Linked DNA regions of Homo sapiens: region 1 is linked to region 2. The links are contacts of gene promoters, found by promoter capture Hi-C in human tissues and cell types (Jung and others, 2019). All regions are on one chromosome and are shown on one strand. Each heading gives the region's core, a stretch centred on a gene start or on the middle of the fragment in contact. The rest is flanking DNA. Distances are from core to core; before and after follow the strand shown.

Region 1 (4,946 bases), core at 890-3,389, 220 kb after region 2:
CATCTTCCTCCTTTGGGGTGGGACAGCCTGTGATGTGCATGGAGCTCAGTGGGTGCTCCAGGTCAGCTGGGGCAATTGGGTGGGGAGGAAGTGCTGGGGAGTGGCAGCTGGGGCCACTGATGCAGATGCGGGCCAAGGAAACGTCCCTTCCTACTGGCTTCAAGAATGTGTCCAGAAAGGGCAAATCCAGAGGTTCCTAGATTTGATCTCACTGCCCTCCAGGGACAGCTGAAGCCTGAGCCATCCTCTCCACTGTAATGACAGGGCAGAATGACCAACCCCTGCTTCAAAACTGGTGGTGGAACCATCTGTGGACCTGGGAAGCTGAAAAGATTCTGGATGTCTCAGTAGGCCACAAGCTTGAAGGGAAAACCTTAAAAGCAGTTATGTGATTCAGACTCTGATGTAGCTTGGTAGAAAGTGCCAGTCCCACTTCTGCCAGACAAGACCAATTACCTCTCTGAGCTGGGGAGGATAGCAGAACGTGGCTTTCCTTCCTTCTGTGCCACGGCCAGGGACTGGCCCAGGGTAGACAAGGGCCAGTGACAAACCTGAGGCCTAACACTGCAGGGAGGACGTGGCCGCAGAATGCTCGGGCCCTACCATAATGAGCAACAGCAGCCACCTCAGCTCCAGGCTGAACCAAACCAGCTGCTGCTGGGGAGGCAGCGTGCAGACCCGTGGCACCCAGGTTTGCTGTTCCCCAACTGGCATCCTGACCGTGGGAGGCCAACCAAGGTGGGTGCTGGTTGCTGGGCGGGCTCTGAGAAGGCCAGGGTTCCCACATCCCCAAGGAGGCCAAAGGGGGCAGTAAGCATGTTTGTGACCATCCCAGCAGAGGGGGCAGCTAGATGGCCCCCAGGGCCTTCTTCACTGCAGGTGTCAACAAAAACAGACTCTGCAAAATATTTGAAGAGATTTATTCTCAGCCAAATATGAGTGACCACAGCCATGACATAGCTCTTGGGAGGTCCTGAGAACATGTGCCCAAGGTGGTTGGGGCGCAGCTTGGTTTTATATATTTTAGGGAGGCATGAGGCAGCAATCAAATACATTTAAGAAATACATTGGTTTGGTTCAGAAAGGCGGGACAGCTCAAAAGCAAGGTGGGGAGGGGGCCTTCCAGGCTATAGGTAAATTTAAACATTTTCTGGTTGGCACTTGGTTGAGTTGTCTAAAGACCTGGGATCAATAGAAAGGAAATGTTCAGGTTAAGATGAAAGATTGTGGAGACCAAGGTTCTTTTTAAGTCTTATAGTGGCTCCCCTTGGAGACAATAGATGACAAATGTTTCCTAATCAGACCTTTAAAAAGGTGCTAAGACTCTTACTTCATCTCTTCAGGGTTGGGAGGGCCTGGAAGAAAACGATCTAGCTCTGTGAATAGAGATTCTTTACAGATGCACGTTTTCCCCCACAAAGGACAGCTTTGCAGGGCCACTTCAAAATATGGCAAAGAAGCATGTTTTGGGATGAAATACTTTTTCTTCCTTGACTCGTAATGTTATGCCAGAGTCAGGTTGGAAAGTAAGTCACGATATATAGGGCTAAATAAAGCCCATCTGATGAGAATGTATGGTTTTTAGGGCATGACTCCCCAGACGCCTTAGATAGGAATTTGGGCAAGATAAAAAATATCAGAGCTTAGTCCTCACAGGGAATGGAGGTGGGGGAGCAGATGTGTTATAGGAAAGGGGTCCTGATCCAGACCCCACGAGAGGGTTCTTGGATCTCACACAAGAAAGAATTCAAGGCGAGTCTGCTGTGCAAAGTGAGAGCAAGTTTATCAAGAAAGTAAAGGAATAAAAGAATGGCTACTCCATAGATAGAGCAGCCCCCGGGGCTGCTTGTTGCCCATTTTTATGGTTATTTCTTGCTGATATGCTAAACAAGGGGTGGATTATTCATGCCTCCCCTTTTTAGACCATAGAGGATGACTTCCTGATGTTGCCATGGCATCTGTGAACTGTGGCGCTGGTGGGAGTGTAGCAGTGAGGACGACCAGAGGTCACTCTCGTCGCCATTTTGGTTTTGATGGGTTTTGGCCGGCTCCTTTACTGCAACCTGTTTTATCAGCAAGGTCTTTATGACCTGTATTTTGTATCTCATCCTGTGACTTAGAATGCCTTAGCTGTCTGGGAATGCAGCCCAGTAGGTTTCAGCCTCATCTTACCCAGCTCCTGTTTAAGGTGGAGTTGCTCTGGTTCACATGCCTCTGACAGATGGGCCCCTGCCAGAGGCCAGGGTCTCATACCGCCACTCCTCCCTCCCCAGGCCTGCAGGGACTTCTTGGAACTAGCAGAGATACACAGTCGGAAATGGCAGCGGGCACTGCAGTATGAGCAGGAGCAGCGCGTGCACTTGGAGGAAACCATTGAGCAGCTGGCGAAGCAGCACAACAGCCTCGAGCGGGCCTTCCACAGTGCCCCTGGCCGGCCGGCCAACCCCTCCAAGAGCTTCATTGAGGGTGAGTGGGCAGCCAGGGCAGGGCTGTCCCATGACCTTCTGCCAGCTGGCTCTGCATACACAACTTCTGCGCCCCCACATGCACATCCCTGGCTGTGCCCACATGTGGGCTGGCCTTGGCCAACTCTTGACTGCCTCTTCGTGGTTTTGTATCTCCCATGTCCATCACCCACTGGCAACAGTTTGTCTGCACCTAGGTTCACATTCTCAAGAGTTAAATTTAATGAGCCCAGCTGTCCCCTGTGTGACAGGGGTGTCCTGGTGCCAGGTGGCCACCCACCTAGCCTTGGGTTGGGGGTCATGGGGACCCTGGACAGGGGTCCATCAGAAAGGGAAGCTGGGCCACAGAAAGACTGACCCACATGTTGAGAGATCGGGGGGGCTTCCAGAAAGAGGCTCCTGTGCGGTGAATGCGTTGAAAGCACATGATTCTAGCAGAGGGAGCAAGGGTGGCCGCAGCCCAGGGAATCAGGGCTGCCCAGGTGACTGAAGCAGGAGGGGAGTGAGGCCAGATGGGGGTTGGGGGAGCCCTTGGCTCTGGACTTAGGGAGGCGAGATTGAGCCTTTTGTGAGGTTACAAATTAAAGCTCTGTCTGTGTCTCTAGGAAGCCTCTTGACTCCCAAAGGAGAGGACAGTGAGGAAGATGAAGATACCGAGTACTTTGATGCCATGGAAGACTCCACATCCTTCATCACCGTGATCACCGAGGCCAAGGAAGACAGGTAAGGTGGCTGCAGCTGGGCAGAGCCTCCCCCACCCTGGTCTTAGGCTGCATCTGGTCTTTTCACCAGCTATCTAGTTGTCTACTTGGGGTTTTCTTTCCTTTAAATCTTGCTTTGGCCAGGCCCAGTGGCTCCCAGCACTTTGGGAGGCCAAGGGTAAGAAGATTGCTTGAATACAAGAGTTTGAGACCAGCCTGGGCAACATGGCGAAACCCTGTCTCTACAAAAAATACAAAAACTAGCCAGGCATGGTAGTGCAGGCCTGTAGTCCCAGCTACTTGGGAGGCTGAAGTGGGAGGGTCGCTTGAGCCCAGGGAGGTGGAGGCTGCAGTGAGCCATGGTCATGCCACTGCACTCTAGCCTGGGCAACAGAGAGACCCTGTCTCAAAAAATCAATAATCTATCGGTCTTGCTCCAGATGGGATTTCATTGTTGTGTGAGCCTCATAGAGTATACTTACACAAACCTAGCTGATAGAGCCTGCCACACACCTGGGCTATATGGCACAGCCTATAGCTCCTGGGCTACAAACCTGTACAACATGTGACTGTACTGAATATTGTAGGCAATTGTGACACAATGGTTAAGGATTTGTGTATCTAAACATAGAAAAGGTATATTAAAAATACGATATGATAGTCTTATGGGACCACTGTCATATACACTATCCACCCTTGAAATGTTGTTATTGCGGTGCCTGTCTACACACAGAACACACGGCAGTGACCAGGACATTTACTAGCAATGAAAATGATGTTGTCTGGAGAGAGGATGGGCCAGGTCCCAAGGAGACCTCGGGATTCATTAGTAACTTGCCTCCCGCTTTGTATTTCCAGCAGAAAAGCTGAAGGTAGCACCGGGACAAGTTCCGTGGACTGGAGCTCAGCAGACAATGTAAGTGAGGGGGAGCACTGTAAGGGCCAGAAGGCAGCTTCTGGCCTAGGGGGTGGGAGGGACAGGCCAGCACCAAGAACTGGGGGCCAGCAGGCAGGCCCATGCCCCAGTCCAGGAGCACCATCCTGGCCTTCCACCAGCAGCGTACCAGTGGCCGGCTTGGTGCCAGTCCTCAGGGTGGAGGGCAGAAACTTGGAAGCCAAGGGGGCGCTCTGGCCTCTGCTGACGGTGAGGGGGTCCCCACTTATGTGGCAGGTACTAGATGGTGCCTCGCTCGTGCCCAAGGGTTCATCCAAAGTCAAGAGGCGAGTCCGCATTCCCAACAAGCCCAACTACAGCCTTAACCTCTGGAGCATCATGAAGAACTGCATCGGCCGGGAGCTCTCCAGGATCCCCATGCCGGTGGGTGGCTCGGGCAGGGCAGCCCCGACAGGTCCTCTGGGGCTGCTTTCCTGTGCGTGGATGAGCAGTAATGGCCTGTGTGAAGTACACACAGCCTTGGAGTGTCATTTTCTTAACGGCACCTGAGGAGCATGTAACTAATTATCTAATCGTGCACATAGGCATTGCCCAATCTTCCAAAGTACAGGGATCTTTGGGCTCTGACAGGAGGAGCCAGGGAGAAGCTCTGCATGGATCAGCAACCTGGGGAGCCCCAGAGCACCTCTGGATCTCACAGGACCTTACCATGTCCCAGCTGTCCCGATCTGTAGATGGGGAGTGGCAGGATGGGGCTGTGTGTGGAGGGGTGGGCCCTCCTTCAGCTGGCAGCCATCCCTGGTGCCATCCCCAGGAAATGCAGGCTCAGAGCTTGGATCCTCATGCCACCTGGCTACAGTGGCATCTCCACTAGGCCAGACGGTT
Region 2 (4,749 bases), core at 180-2,679:
CCCCCGTCTCTACTAAAAATACAAAAATTAGCCAGGCGTGGTGGCATGGGCCTGTAGTCCCAGCTACTCAGGAGGCTGAGACGGGAGAATTGCTTGAACCCGGGAGGCGGAGGCTGCAGTGAGCCAAGATCGTGCCACTGCACTCCAGCCTGGGAGACAGCGTGAGACTCCATCTCAAAAAAAAAAAAAAAAAAAAAAAAAGCAATCTCTATCAGGCACTGTATTAGGTGTTGGAGATACTGAAATGTACAAGACAGGCATGGCCCCTTTTCTCAGGGAGCTCAAAGACTAGTGGGAGAAACAGATAGTAAACAGGCAATTACAGGCAGACAGAGCTTGAAAATAGGATAACAGTACCTACCTTAAAAGGATGTTGTGAAATTAAACGAGATAATCCACGTAAAGAGTTTTCTCAGGGCTTGGCATAGAGTAAGCCCTCTCAAAATGATAACTATTTTTCTCGCTTCTGATAGGGAAGTTAAAATGCAGGGCTCTGTGAAAGGGAAGTGTAAAAAAGATTTCTTCCAGGTCGGAGCCTAGGGAGTCGCAAAGACCACCTGAAGAAATCACAAAAGATCTAAAGAACGTTTAGCTTGAGAGGGAGGAGGAGAAAAAAATAGCAACTCGGTAGCAGTTCAGCTTCACCACTTTACAGCCTATGAAGTATTTGGCTTCCCTCATCTGGTTCGATCTTCAAAGCAACCTAATCAGACCGGCGTCTAGAGTTAATATTTCCATTTTACAAAAGAGGAAAGTGAGACACAGCGCGGAAAAGGACTTGTTCAGAACGAGTCATAAAGCAAAGAAGCCGACCTTTATGGTCCATTATGTGTGGGAAAAATGAACAAACACCGCGGGGCGTTCGTGAAATACTAAGTTATAAACATGGAACAAAGTCCAAGAGTTAACGAGAGCGAAGCATCACTTCTAGGGGTGGGCCGGGTAGGTTTCCTAGGGGAGCTGGCATTGGAATAGGCTTCTTCGCCTGCTTAGTGTCAGGACCCCCAGGGTTTTACCTCTCTCCTTCAGGCGGGTGGGCGGGTTCGCTCAGGAAGTAGCCGCTTGGGGAAGCCTTAGGCAAGGTTCTTCGGGAGAGAGACCCGTCATGATCCCGCAGCCTCAATCCCCGCTGGCCTAACGCTTTGGTTTCCATAGCAATGGGCTCGTCGCAGAAAGGAATAGCCTGTGCCGGGTCTTCAGAGAAATCCTGGCCTCGGCTCCACGCCCCTGAGCAGCCCCACCCTGGCTCAACCTGTTACCCGCCCTGCCGGCAAGCCGGGGTCACTGCAGTCCCCGTGGCGAAGCAGGGTCAGCTCAGCTCACCGCACCCCACTCCATCCAGCCCTGCCCATCTCTACGGCAACGGGCCGGGTCGCACCAGGGCTGCAGCCGAGAGACAGTCTCACCGCTTCCGTAGCCGCCCGGGCTCTGTGCGCATGTGCGACACTCCCTCCCCGGCCCCGCCCCCTTATGCGTCTCCCAGGCAACGCGCCGCGCGGGGCTCCAGGTTCCGCCCAGGGACTAACTCCAGGTCTGCGCGCGTCCAACGAGCACGGCTCTCAACCGGCCTCCTGGCGCCCAACGACCATGGCTTCCAACCGGCCTCCGTGCGCCCAACGACCATGACTCCCAACCGGCCTCCAGTTTCCAACTGTTTCTCGAACAGGGAAGCCGCCATGACACAGCTGACTACGCCCTTGGTCACAGGGGACCTGAGATCCTCCACGATTTACGGGACCGGCGCCACCTCGGGCTCGAACCACCCTCTCGATAGGGCCGCCGCTAAGTAATCGGCGTAGGGGTTCAGCCGCACATCTCCTTCCCGCGCCGCGGACCGAGCAGTCGTTGGTGCTCTTCAGGTGCGGCCTGGGTGCCCAGAGCCTTCGTTAGACTCTCGGACCCGCAAGGGAGCCCGAACTCTTTCAGACTCGCTCTCCCTCAGCCGGACCTCGGCCCTTTTTCACACCCCAGGGGAGTCTGGATTTCTCATAGTCCTGGGCACCAGCCCCTTCCCAGTCTAGCTCTTGGGACTCCCTGAAGCCGGAACTCCCTCGCCTGGACTCCCGGGAGAACCTGGAATCCCCATCTCCAGTCCACATTTTCTCAGAATCTGTCCTAGCCCTTCAGTCTCCCAGGCATGACATCGTGTGGTCCCAGCGCCCTAGGTGGTGAGCTGTGACTCTCCTTAGAGCCTGGCGAGGCCGAGGTCCTCCCCAGCTCGAACCCATCCCACACTCCCCTTCTCAGCCTCTGTGTTCCCCAGTGGTCCTGGAAAAGCCCCCAGTTCCCTCTGCCTGGCCCCAATCCTCACAAACCCAATTACCCACGCTCCTTTCCATTCCATAACCCCCATCACTGCATCCTCCAGGCTCCCATCCATGGAGGACTTGAGGTGGAAAGCAATTTGGTTCAAAATAACCATTATTTATTACTTGAAAGGGAATATTTCCAGTCGTTGCCAGCCTCCTCCCCTTCTAGTATTGGTAAATTTTTTGCACCACTGAGTGGGTGAAGAGTTTTATGCGTCTTTAAATGTTTTAAGGATTTTTTTAAAAAAACAAAAAACTCTCAGGATTTGGGGGACTTTTGTGTTTGAGCATCTTGATCTCTAAACCAGCTTTTTCCATCACCTCACACCTAGGCTATGCATAGAGGTCAGAAAAATGTAAATGAGAGATTGAGAAGTTGGATTGTTCATACTAGTTTGTAAATATGAAAACATTCACAACACTCCAGTTCCAAATAGGCTGAAAATGCATTAGAAAAACTAGTCCTTCAATATTTTTTATCCTTCTACAGTTGTCTTTTTTGACCCAATTATAAAAGTAGTGTACACTTATAGAAAAATGAGGACAGGCATGGTGGCTCACGCTTGTATTCCCACCACTTCACTTTGAAACGCTGAGGCAGTTGGATCACCTGAGCTCAGGAGTTCGAGACCAGCCTGGGCAACAGGGTGAAACCCCATCTCTACCAAAAATACAAAAAATTAGCCGGGCTTGGTGGCTCACCTGTGGTCCCAGTTACTCAGGAGGCTGAGGTGGGAGGATCACTTGAGCCTGGGATGTGGAGGTTGCAGTGAGCTGAGATTGTGCCACTACTCTCCAACCTGGGGGACAGAGTGAGACCCCGTCTCGAAGAAATAAAAAGAAGACAAGACAGGCCAGCAGCATAAGTGGCTAGGGACAATCACTGTTAACATTTTGGTGTATTTTGATCAGAATCCATTCATATATATATATATATATATATATATATATGTTACAACATGCTTATACTTAAAAAAGATACATCACAAAAGTTCACTTTTTAGTAACCTGCTTTTTTCTCCCATCTAATATACCACCCGTCTATGTTTCATACACAATTACATGTATTTTATTTTATGACATACCAAAATTTATTCAATTGCTTCCATACTGTAGATTTTGTTTCCGCATTTTAGAAAGAAAATATGAACAATTTTTTTTTTGAGACAGAGTCTAGCTCTGTGGCCCAGGCCCGAGTGCAGTGGCACAGTCTTGGCTCACTGCAACCTCTGCCTCCTGGGTTCCAGTGATTCTCCTGCCTTAGCCTCCTGATTAGCTGGGATTACAGGTGCTCACCACTACACCCGGCTAATTTTTGTATTTTTAGTAGAGATGGGGTTTCACCATGTTGGCCAGGCTGGTCTCGAACTCCTGACCTCAAGTGATCTGCCCACCTTGGCCTCCCAAAGTGCTGGGATTATAGGCCTCAGCCACTGTGCCTGATCCTGAAGAATTATTTTTAAATGGGCAAAACCATTTAAAGGTATTTATTTGTAAGACTACTTCATGGTGTAACCAAATTATCAAAAAGTGAAAATGCAGTGCTTAGAAGTATATCCACTCTTCAGCATTTCCTCATTTTGACCAGATTGTTATATTTTCACCTGGAGTACCTAGCTCCATTCTACCCCACCCCACCCCATGTTTCACCTCACCTTTCAGAGTCTCCTAAAACCCCTGTCCACCCCACACCTCCCTATTCTAAATTTTCCCCAAACCTTCTTCTGGAATTCCCCTATTAACCAGCCTAACATCTGTCCAAACTCTTACTTTTATTTCTCCCTGCTCTGATCTATACTCCCCCAAGCCCCCGCCTCCCAGATCCCCTTTAGGCACAGGGTCTAGAGCAAGTGCTCCCCAAGCTAAACACCTCTCAAATTCATCCTTCGAACCCTACTCTACAACTTTTACTCCTCCCCTCTAAGACCCCTCTCTCCCATTTCATCCTTAAGAAGGATCATCAAGATGACTGCTTTTGGCTGGGTGGGCATGGTGGCTCTCACGCATGTAATCCTACCACTTTGGGAGCCCAAGGCAGGCATATCTCTTGAGGTCAGGAGTTCGAGACTAGCCTGGCCAACATGGTGAAACCCCGTCTCTACTAAAAATACAAAAATTAGCCAGGTGTGGTGGCGCATGCCTGTAATCCTAGCTGCTCGGGAGGCTGAGGCAGGAGAATCGCTTGAACCCGGGAGGTGGAGGTTGCAGTGAGCCGAGATTGTGCCACTGCATTCCAGCCTGGGAGACAGAATGAAACTCCATCTCAAAAAAACAAAAGACTGCTTTGGAAGATGGTTCTGAGTTCCTGATAACCCTTCTCTTGTGGACTGCACTGGGGCCCTTTTACAAACACAGAATTGCTTTTCTTCTGGGTGTCCATGAAACACCCCTTTAGCATATCTTTCCACAAGAAGAAACTGTGGTTACTCCCTTGCTTCTC

What was found. The method cuts DNA at HindIII sites, captures the fragments that hold promoters and counts their contacts. A contact is called where the count stands out against the background at its distance.
Region 1: a fragment that was not itself captured here is called in contact with the fragment with the promoter of DUSP18 in region 2 in 1 of the 25 tissues and cell types used here (dorsolateral prefrontal cortex).

What each region holds. Positions count from the first base shown.
Region 1 is chr22:30,885,153-30,890,098 of GRCh38, forward strand. It overlaps OSBP2 (oxysterol binding protein 2), which reads left to right. Exons shown (of 14, transcript NM_030758.4): 4 at 2,274-2,466; 5 at 3,071-3,188; 6 at 4,025-4,082; 7 at 4,338-4,484. LOC107985544 (a long non-coding RNA gene) reads right to left here. Exons shown (of 3, transcript NR_146603.1): 3 at 904-4,946. Among named protein-coding and RNA genes, the nearest start is that of MORC2-AS1, 35 kb to the right of the region's middle. RefSeq lists an enhancer at 860-1,557. The HindIII fragment of the contact is 5,521 bases long and covers 1-4,900 here.
Region 2 is chr22:30,666,446-30,671,194 of GRCh38, forward strand. It overlaps DUSP18 (dual specificity phosphatase 18), which reads right to left and starts at 1,430. Exons shown (of 2, transcript NM_152511.5): 1 at 1,017-1,430. It also overlaps a transcript of SLC35E4 not described here. RefSeq lists an enhancer at 1,528-1,917. The HindIII fragment of the contact is 10,031 bases long and covers 1-4,749 here.